Linked DNA regions of Homo sapiens: all the other regions are linked to region 2. Evidence: promoter capture Hi-C in human tissues and cell types (Jung and others, 2019). All regions are on one chromosome and are shown on one strand. The core of a region is centred on a gene start or on the middle of the fragment in contact, and the rest is flanking DNA. Distances in the headings are between cores, read along the strand shown. Region 1 overlaps UBE2O (ubiquitin conjugating enzyme E2 O). Region 2 holds the start of RHBDF2 (rhomboid 5 homolog 2). Region 3 has its middle 16 kb from the start of ST6GALNAC2.

The links. Contacts are between HindIII fragments. The study calls those that stand out against the background at their distance.
Region 1: a fragment that was not itself captured here is called in contact with the fragment with the promoter of RHBDF2 in region 2 in 6 of the 25 tissues and cell types used here (IMR-90 fibroblasts, adrenal gland, dorsolateral prefrontal cortex and 3 more).
Region 3: a contact is called between a fragment that was not itself captured here and the fragment with the promoter of RHBDF2 in region 2, in 3 of the 25 tissues and cell types used here (dorsolateral prefrontal cortex, mesenchymal stem cells and neural progenitor cells).

Annotation. Positions count from the first base shown.
Region 1 is chr17:76,426,937-76,430,071 of GRCh38, reverse strand. The region is part of intron 1 of UBE2O (ubiquitin conjugating enzyme E2 O); the gene reads left to right. Among named protein-coding and RNA genes, the nearest start is that of UBE2O, 25 kb to the left of the region's middle. The HindIII fragment of the contact is 3,437 bases long and covers 1-2,969 here.
Region 2 is chr17:76,499,957-76,502,734 of GRCh38, reverse strand. It overlaps RHBDF2 (rhomboid 5 homolog 2), which reads left to right and starts at 1,312. Exons shown (of 19, transcript NM_001005498.4): 1 at 1,312-1,382. RefSeq lists enhancers at 895-1,034, 1,385-2,054 and a silencer at 1,085-1,724. The HindIII fragment of the contact is 32,589 bases long and covers 1-2,778 here.
Region 3 is chr17:76,600,474-76,603,650 of GRCh38, reverse strand. No RefSeq gene overlaps it. Among named protein-coding and RNA genes, the nearest start is that of ST6GALNAC2, 16 kb to the right of the region's middle. RefSeq lists enhancers at 799-1,345, 1,346-1,893, 1,220-2,419 and a silencer at 2,270-2,564. The HindIII fragment of the contact is 3,370 bases long and covers 1-3,177 here.

The sequences.
Region 1 (3,135 bases), core at 2-2,501, 73 kb after region 2:
GAGGCAATTGGTGGCACTCAAGGTGGGAATAAGGTTTGGGCCTAAAAGCAGAGGGATTATGATTAGTTGACAGTCTGTATAGGGAGGGATGAAACTTCCCAAGTCATCTCTTTGAATTCTGCAAACCAGAAAATACTCAATCCCCTTTGCTGGCGAGTGAGAGAGCAGAGGCTTATGCACCAGATTGAGGTACCTTGGGCAGAGCAAGGGGCAGGGTAACGCTGGACTGAAAGAGGGATTCATGAACGTCTGCACACTAAAAGAGCAAATCCCAGCCATGCCCCTGCCTGCTCCTGGAGTGCTGAGGCCAGGCATGAGGCATGGCATTGGATTCCAGTCTGGAAAAAATGAGCATGTCAGCAACAAGACCTGCCATTGCCAGTATGTAGTGGCTCCTCACAGCAGTGGCCAGCTTTCTACTCCATCTAATGTGGTCCTCACCTGTCCAGAGCCTTGCTTATGTTCACAGGGTTTCTATCATCTTTTTATCACCTCAACTTTTTTAACTTTTTTTTTTTTTTTTTTTTTTTGAGACAGAGTCTCACTCTGTCACCCAGGCTGGAGTACAGTGGTGTAATCTTGGCTCACTGCAACCTCTGCCTCCCAGGCTGAAGCACTTCTCCCACCTCAGCCTCCCAAGTAGCTGGGATTACAGCCATGCGCCACCACTCCTGGCTAATTTGTGTGTTTTTTGTCAAGATGGGGTTTTGCCATGTTGCCTAGGCAGGTTTCAAACTCCTGAGCTCAAGTGATCTGCCCACCTCAGCCTCACAAAGTGCTGGGATCACAGGCATGAGCCACCATCCCCAGCCCAACTTTTTATTTTGAAATAATTATAGATGCATAGGAAGTTGCAAACATAGTAGAGGGCTGGCTGGACGCGGTGGCTCATGCCTGTAATCCCAGCACTTTGGGAGGCCGAGGCGGGCAGATCACGAGGTCAGGAGTTCGAGACCAGCCTGGCCAACATGGTTAAACCCCGTCTCTACTAAAAATACAAAAATTAGCCGGGCATGGTGGCATGCGCCCGTAATCCCAGCTACTCGGGAGGCTGAGGCAGGAGAATTGCTTGAACCCAGGAGGCAGAGGTTGCAGTGAACCAAGATCATGCCACTGCACTCCAGCCTGGGCGACAGAGCAAGACTCCATCTCAAAAAAAAAAAAAAAAATAGTAGAGGGGTCCCCTCTACCCTTCATGCAGTTTCCCTTGATGGTCATGTCTTATATAATCACAGACAATATGAAAATCAGGGAATTGACATGGGTACACAATATGTGCATACAGTTTCACACCCTTTATCACATCTGTGGATTCATGTAACCACATGTAACAGCAGTCAAGATACACAACTCTTCCATCACCACAAAGATCTCTTATTGCCTCACTTTTAAATAGGAATGGATGCCAAGAATAACTGGATATGTTCAGAAAGCTTCCAGTATGGAAGGTAGAGGCCAGAGAAAGCAAAGAGAAAAATGTATCTCCGAGGAATCAGAGCTGATTCAGGTAGGAGAAAGCCTTAAAGCACATGGCAAATATACTCAGAAAGAAGAGCCAATATTTTATCCATGAAATAAAAAGTTACTATAAAAATCAGAACAAGAAAGAGTTCTCGGAAATTAAAACCATTACTTTTTCTTTGAAGTTGACGAAGGCTCCCAGGAAACAGATTAAAAACGTCTGACATCTAGGAAGTCTATAAAGAGAGAAAGGGAAAATTAAGGACCATAATGTATCAGAGAAACAAGAATTATTTCAGAATGGACAGTCATAAGTTTCAAAAATGGTAAATGGAAAATGTCCTGTGGCACATTGTGTGATTCCAGAGCACTGGGCATAAAGCTTCCGAAGAGCAAAAACGGGTCACATACAAAAGACTGGGAATGAAGATGGATTGGATTTTTCAACCTCATTGGAAGCCAGAAGACAATGGGGTGGATTTCCTGTTTCAGTGACATGGTAGCTTGAGCTAAAGTTAGAACCGCTCCCATTACAATCACTTAAAATGCTATATAAGCTATAACAACAGAATAAGAAAGAAAAACAGAGAACCGAAAGCAAAGCAGGAATATAAAGCCAGAGCAGAGTAGGCAGCTCTGGGGAGGGGCAAGGTGGGTTCATTGGACCCTGAAATCGACCCTAACAATAATAGAGGTTTGGATTTGCATGAACACGTGAAGCATGGAGTTGAAACAGAAATCCCCTCAAAAGAGCCATTCCCAGGTAAAAGGGATGCAAGAAAATTTCCCCCATGGGATCAGAGAAATGTCAAGGGAGCTGATCATTGCCCCACACTCTGGATTGTGTTGGAGGAAGTCTTCTGTGAACAGTGGAAAACATCCAAGTTCTAAGTCTGTGTTTATAACATCTACATGTTGCAGGAATGCCCGAGCTGGCACCAGACCAGCCAGCAGACTGGCGATACCCCTGAAGCTTCTTGCTTGCAGAACAAAGGCAGAACTTTTCTAGAGTGACCCTTGCACAGTACAGGCCTTTTGGAATCCTAGGATGCCCACAGATGATGAGCTTGTTCTAGGAAATTACCAAGCATGTAGAAATTAGAACATGAGTCAGCGATCACAACAAACACAAGATTCTCAACATGAGAATTCAAATAATAGAAGAGATTATAATAGAAATGTCTAAAGTGATTGAAGGGCTAAAAGAAGAAATAGATGTCAAAGGAAAGAATAAGACAGAATACATCTTAAAAGGGATTATTTTTTAAAGAATCAAATAAAGCCTCTAGAGTGAAAACATTGAGTTAAAACCCCAGTGGAAATGTTAAACAGCAAATAGCATAAATTCTCAAGAGAGAACTATGGGAACTGGAAAACAGATCTGCAGAAGTTAGTTAGAATTCTGCAGAGATAAAAGAGATGCTTGTGAGGAAGAGACATTACAAACATGGATGGTGGTATGAGGGCCCAGTGGGAAAAATAGCATCCTAAAGGCAGCTTGAGAAGAAAGGCAGATTACTCCCCAGGTTCAACAGTGAAACTCAGGAAATGCCAAGTAGCAACAGTAGAGGCCATAAGGAAGTAAAATCTTCAGTGTGCTAAGGAAAATCAGTTGTTGGCTTAGTTTTCAGCAACCAGCTTAAATTATCGTTCAATAATGGGAACAAATAAGGA
Region 2 (2,778 bases), core at 63-2,562:
GCACTTTGGAATGGCTAGCTGCTCTCACCCTTCCTGTTACAGTATTGAGTTCCAACGTCTCCCTGTAGAATGCTGGCACTTCGTGGGCAGGCCCTGGTTTTGTTCCTCTCTGCACATAACCCCAGGATGTGCTGGTTGCACAATAAATGGTCCCTTACATTTGTTACTAGGAGCAACCCCCACCCCAGCTTTGGCCCACTCCCCCTCCTTCCAGCCTGTGCCCTCCTCATGGCCCCAGAGCTGGGGAGGAGAGATGCATCTCTCAGGATAATCTCCAGCAGCCAGGTGCTCCCCACCTCCACCCAGGTCAGCAATAAACACCAGAGTCCTTGGGTTGGGGGGCAGGGTGGCTCAGGAGCTCTCTAAGGGCCAGAGGTTTTGCCTTGGCCCTGACAACCCCACCCCCACCCCTCCAAGCCTGAGTCTCTTCAAACTCTGCTCCTCCTGGCCTAGCCAGGCCTCCTGGAGAGGGACGGCGAGATGATAAGCGCTGGGGCTGAGAACGGGGCATCCAGACCTTGGAGTTCGGTCCTAGCTGCCCTGGCCAAGGTTTTGTTTGTCTAGTCCCAAGAGGCAGGCCCTTGGAGTCCAGGGAAGAGAGAAGGAACCACCTGGGCAGACAGACCCAAGCCAAGGGGCCAGGTGTCGCCAGCGTCCCCAATCTCCAGTCTGGCTCTGGCCCGCATGGCAGCTGGAAGGGCCAGAGCTGGGTGGGTTCTGTCAATGCTTCTACGGGGTGTGTAGGGGGTTGGCAGGAGTCACAAATGTTGGCCTTAGCTGCAGGGCAAATGCAGATAGGACCTCCACGGAGTGCCTGTTCCCAACCCAAGGGCACAGCAGAGCTAGGAGAGAGGCCTCAGGGTCCAGGAGGGAGAGGAGGTGTTCAGGCCCAGCTTCCCGGAGAGAGTGTGACTACAGACTAAAAGGGTCAAGGGAACAGGCCCACTTGGCCTGAGGATGAGGGCGCTGGAAGAAGGGGATGGGAGATTGGGTGCTTTTTCTTGATGGGGAGGGGCGACTTGAAGACGGCAATCAAGACCTAGATGACGTGTTTGGTCTGGGGTGGAGTGAGGACGCCAAGAGGGAAAGGACGGCGCCCTGAAGAGACCAGCTCAGGCGAAAACAGGGCTCTGCCCAGGCGGGGACCCAGCTGGGTGGAGGGCGGAGGCAGGAACCCAGGAAGCCGACTGAGCAAAGACTGCGTCCAGGCCCCGCCCCCATGAGCCCGGCCACGCCCCCTGGAGCCCAGCCCCGCCTCCCGGCCGCCCGCGCGCAGGTAGGGAAGAGGCGGAGCGCCGCCGCCCCGCCCCCGAGGAGCCACCGCCCAGCCGCTCGCAGGCGCCGCACGGAGTTGCGTCCCGGGGACTTGGGGCCGCAGGGAGGTGAGCGCGGGGCGACGAGCGGGGCAGGACTCACGGCCGCCCAGCCGCAGGCGCCGGAAGGGTCCCGAGGTTGTGCCCGAGCCTGCCCTGGAGCGGTGGTGCGCGGCCAGGAAGGGTGCCCAGTGCCCGGTGCCCGCCCTGCGGAGCGCCTGGGTCCCACGTGGGCTCGGCTGGAGGCCCGGGCTGGCTCAGACGGCGCCGGCGGGGCCGCTGGACCCGGTCTGCTGGCCCCTAGGGCTCGGCTCGGACAGGACGCCTAAGGGGTCCCTGGGCGACGGGGCGCCAGATGTAGGGGCAAGACGATTGGGCAGAGATTTAAACCTCCGGAGGAAGAGAGGAGACTGCGCAGGGCAGTCCCGCCTGCGTCCCAGAAGTGCCTGCAGTTCAGACCCTTCTCTCCCCTCCACTTTCTCCCGGGTGAGCACCGGGCGGACCGGGGCCGAAGTTTGTTGGTTGAGCCAGCCAAGGTGGAAACAGGTGCGGGGGTGGGGATGAGGGACTCACACAGCAGGGCTGGACCGGAGCTCAGAAATTGGACCCAGGAGTCCTGACTTCTGGATGGAGGGGCTGGGGAAGGTTGGCCCTGGGCTTGCCTTTTACCTGTTTGGCCCCTCGGATGTTCCCCCAGGGCATTGGGATAGAGACGGATAAGTTCCCTAGGGTACAGACCCCGCCCCACTCCCACGCCAGGGCGCAAAGGAAGCCTAGGTTTTGGCCCTGCCCCATTCCATGAAAGATTAACGGAGGGGGCTCTAGGGTTGGAGCTACTGAGAGGGTGGCAGCGGGTGTGTCTGAGGAGCAGAAGGCGGTGGGGAGCTGACCCCACTTGGGGAGAGGCTGCTGTTGCCTGGGCGGCTGGCATCAGGCCCCCAGTGTGTGCCATTTGCTGGTAATATAATGAGACCAGCATCTGCCTTATTCGACCCTCACTGTCCGTAGGGCAGGCAGTGGAAAGGGAGGCGTGTTTTAGAGCTGTGGTTCTCAACCAGGGGCGACTTTGCCTGCCATGGGATATTTGGCAATGTTGGAGTCATTTTGGGTGTCACACACTTGGGAGGGGAAGTGAGTGTTGTTGTTACTGGCAGGTAGTGGGTAGAGGCCAGGGACGCTACCAGACATCTTCAGGGCACGGAACAGCCCACATAACGAGGAATTATCCAGCCCAAGGTGTTGGGCTGTGCTGAGGCTGAGAAACCCTGCGCAGCAGCTGGTCCATCAGGTTCCTTCTCAATGATGCTCCCTCACTGGGGAAACTACCTCAGTTTTCCAGAGTGGTTAGGGGAGGAACTTGGAATAAACCTGAATGAGATGAGGGGTAAGGCAGTGTGAGGGCACTTATTCCCCTCACAAGAGTCTTCCTTTGGTGCCATGAGACACCGCCTTTCCCAATCTCCAC
Region 3 (3,177 bases), core at 304-2,803, 100 kb before region 2:
AACCTCTGCCTCCTGTGTTCAAGCAATTCTCCTGCCTCAGCCTCCTGAGTAGCTGGGATCACAGGTGTGCACCACCACGCCTGGCTAATTTTTGTATTTTTAGTAGAGACGGAGTTCCACCATCTTAACCAGGCTGGTCTTGAACTCCTGACCTCAAGTGATCTGCCCACCTCAGCCTCCCAAAGTGCTGGGATTACAGGTGTGAGTCACCGCGCCCAGCCCCATCCTTTTTCTTGACTCCTTCCAGCTTAGACCAAAAACCCCAAGTGCAAGTTCAGGCTTCCAAACTCTACGGCCTCTGATATGGTTTGGATGTGTGTCCCCTCCAAACCTCATGTTGAAACATGATTCCTAATGTTAGATGTGGGGCCTGATGGGGGGTGATTCGATCATGGGGTAGATCCTTCATGAATGGCTCAGCAACATCCCCTTGGTGATAAGTGAGTTTTGCTCAGTTAGTTCATGCAAGGTCTGGTTGTTTAAGAGTCTGGGACCTCTCCCTTCTCTCTATTGCTCTCTCTCCAAGTGACATGCCTGCTCCCACTTCACCTTCCGCCATGAATAAGAGCTCCCTGAGGCCTCACCAGAAGCCAAGCAGATGTGGGCACCATGCTTCCTGTACAGCCTGCAGAACAATGAGCCAATTAAACCTCTTTTCTTTATAAATTATCCACTGTCAGGTATTTATAGCAATGTAAAAACAGACTAACAGCCTCCAACTATGTCCTCTTCCCAAGGAGTGCCCTTGCAATGATTCAAAGCCTGGGCCAGGAATTGAGTGTTTTACCGGTGGGTAAACCATGGCTTATCCATTAAACGTTGCAGCATAATTTATCTTTCAACAACCCCAGTCTCTCTTTCTCTTCCGCCTTTCAGAGTCACTGGTGCAAGGGCTCACACAGTTACTCACGGATTTAACATTATTTTTCCTCTTTTCTCACATGCCTGGGACTTAGACAACTAATTCAGCTGTTTTAGAGGATTTAAAAGGTTAAAGTACAGATCTAACACGTCTCGCAATTCTCTGCTTCTGGGTCAGCAGTTTTTTTGGGTTTTTTGTTTTTTTTTTGAGACAAAGTCTTGTTCTCTCGCCAAGGCTGGAATGTAATGGCACGATCTGGGCTCACTGCAACCTCTGCCTCCCAGGTACAAGTGATTCTCCTGCCTCAGCCTCCCGAGTAGCTGGGATTACAGGTGCCTGCCACCACACCTGGCTAATTTTTGTATTTTTAGTAGAGACGGGATTTCGCCATGTTGGCCAGGCTGGTCTCAAACTCTCGACCTCAGGCGGTCCGCCTGCCTTGGCCTCCCAAAATGCTGGGATTACAGGTGTGAGCCACCATGCCCAGCCTAGGATCAGCAGTTTTTGATCTTGTTCTTTTTTGCAGTGAGGAGTAGGCAAAGGGTCCAAAAGTTGCTCCTGGGTCGAGGGTGCATTGGAGAGATCAAGAGAGATTCAGAAGCAGGACAGATATTTGTGTTAGTAATGTTACAGGCACTTCAACCAGAGTGACTCCATCTTGAATAGGGACTGGGTAAAATGAGGTTGAGACCTGCTGTACTGCATTCCTAGGGGGTTAGACATTCTTAGTCATAGGGTGAGATAGGAGCTCGCAAGATACAGGTCACAAAGACCCTGCTGATAAAACAGGATGCAGTAAAGAAGCCAGCCAAAACCAAGATGGCAACAAATGTAACCTCTAATAGTCCTCACTGCCCATTATATGCTAATTATAATGCATTAGCATGCTAAAGTCACTCCCACCGGCACCATGAAAGCTTAGAAATGCCATGGCAACGTTCAGAAGTTACCTTATATGGTCTAAAAGGGGGAGGAAACCTCATTTCCAAAAAATCCCCACCCGTTTCCTGGAAAACATAATAATCCACTCCTCGTTTAGCATATGATCAAGAGATAACCATAAAAATAGCCACCCACTGGGAGGCGGAGGCGGGTGGATCACAAGGTCAGGAGATTGAGACCATCCAGGCTAACACCATGAAACCCCATCTCTACTAAAAATAAAAATAAATAAAAAAAATAGCCACCCAGCAGCTCTTGGGGCTGCTCTGCCTATGGAATAGCTATTCTTTTGTTTCTTTACTTCTCTAACAAACTTGCTTTCACTTTACTCTGGACTCACCCTAAATTCTTTATTGCATGAGATCCCAGAACCCTCTCTTGGGGTCTGGATTGGGACCCCTTTCTGGTGATAGTAATGGAAAGTCTAAAGTGTACTCAGAGGATAGTGTTGCATTCATGCTGGTCTCCATGGCAGTCCTCACATGTCCTGTTGACTGTATGTATTTATTTTTGAGAGAGGGTCTCACCCCATCACCCAGGCTGGAGTGCAGTGGCGCTATTGCAGCTCTCTGCAGCCTTGAACTCCCAGGCTCAAACGATCCTCCCACCTTAGCTTCCTGCATATGTGCCACCACACCCAGTTAACTTTTTTTCTCTCTTTTTGGTAGAGACAGGGTCTCACGATGTCGCCTAGGCTTGTCTCGAACTCTTGGGCTCAAGCGATCGGCCCACCTCGGCCTCCCAAAGTACTGGGATTACAGGCATAAGTCACTATTCCCTGCTTTGACTGGTATTTAAAGGAAAGCTTAAAGTCAAACATTGTGTTCACAGAAGGAGAAAAGTACACTGTACCAAGCTTGAGGATTTATACTTATCTACAAAATTGTTTGCAAATCGGTTTATACAAAAATGTGGCATTTTCTGGATTATCACATACTGGGTGGGCACAAAGAATAGTTCTGTGTTGGCACTGGGGAACAGGGAACTAGAGGCCTGACCCCGACCCCCTTCACATACACAAACACACACACACACTCACACACACACACTCACGCACACACCAGCTTCCTCAGAATCTCAAGGCAGGTTGGGTGTGGTGGCTTATGCCTGTATCCTAGTATTTTGGGAGGCCAAGGCAAACGGATTCCTTGAGCTCAGGAGTTCAAGACCAGTCTGGGCAACATGGCAAAACCCCATCTCTACTAAAAGTACAAAAATTAGCCAGGTGTGGTGGTGCGCATCTATAGTCCTAGCTACTCAGGAGGCTGAGGTGGAAGGATAGCTTGAGCCCAGGAGTTCAAGACTGCAGTGAGCCATGATCACGGCGCCACTGTACTCCAAGCTGGGTGACAGAGTAAGACCCTGTCCCCCCA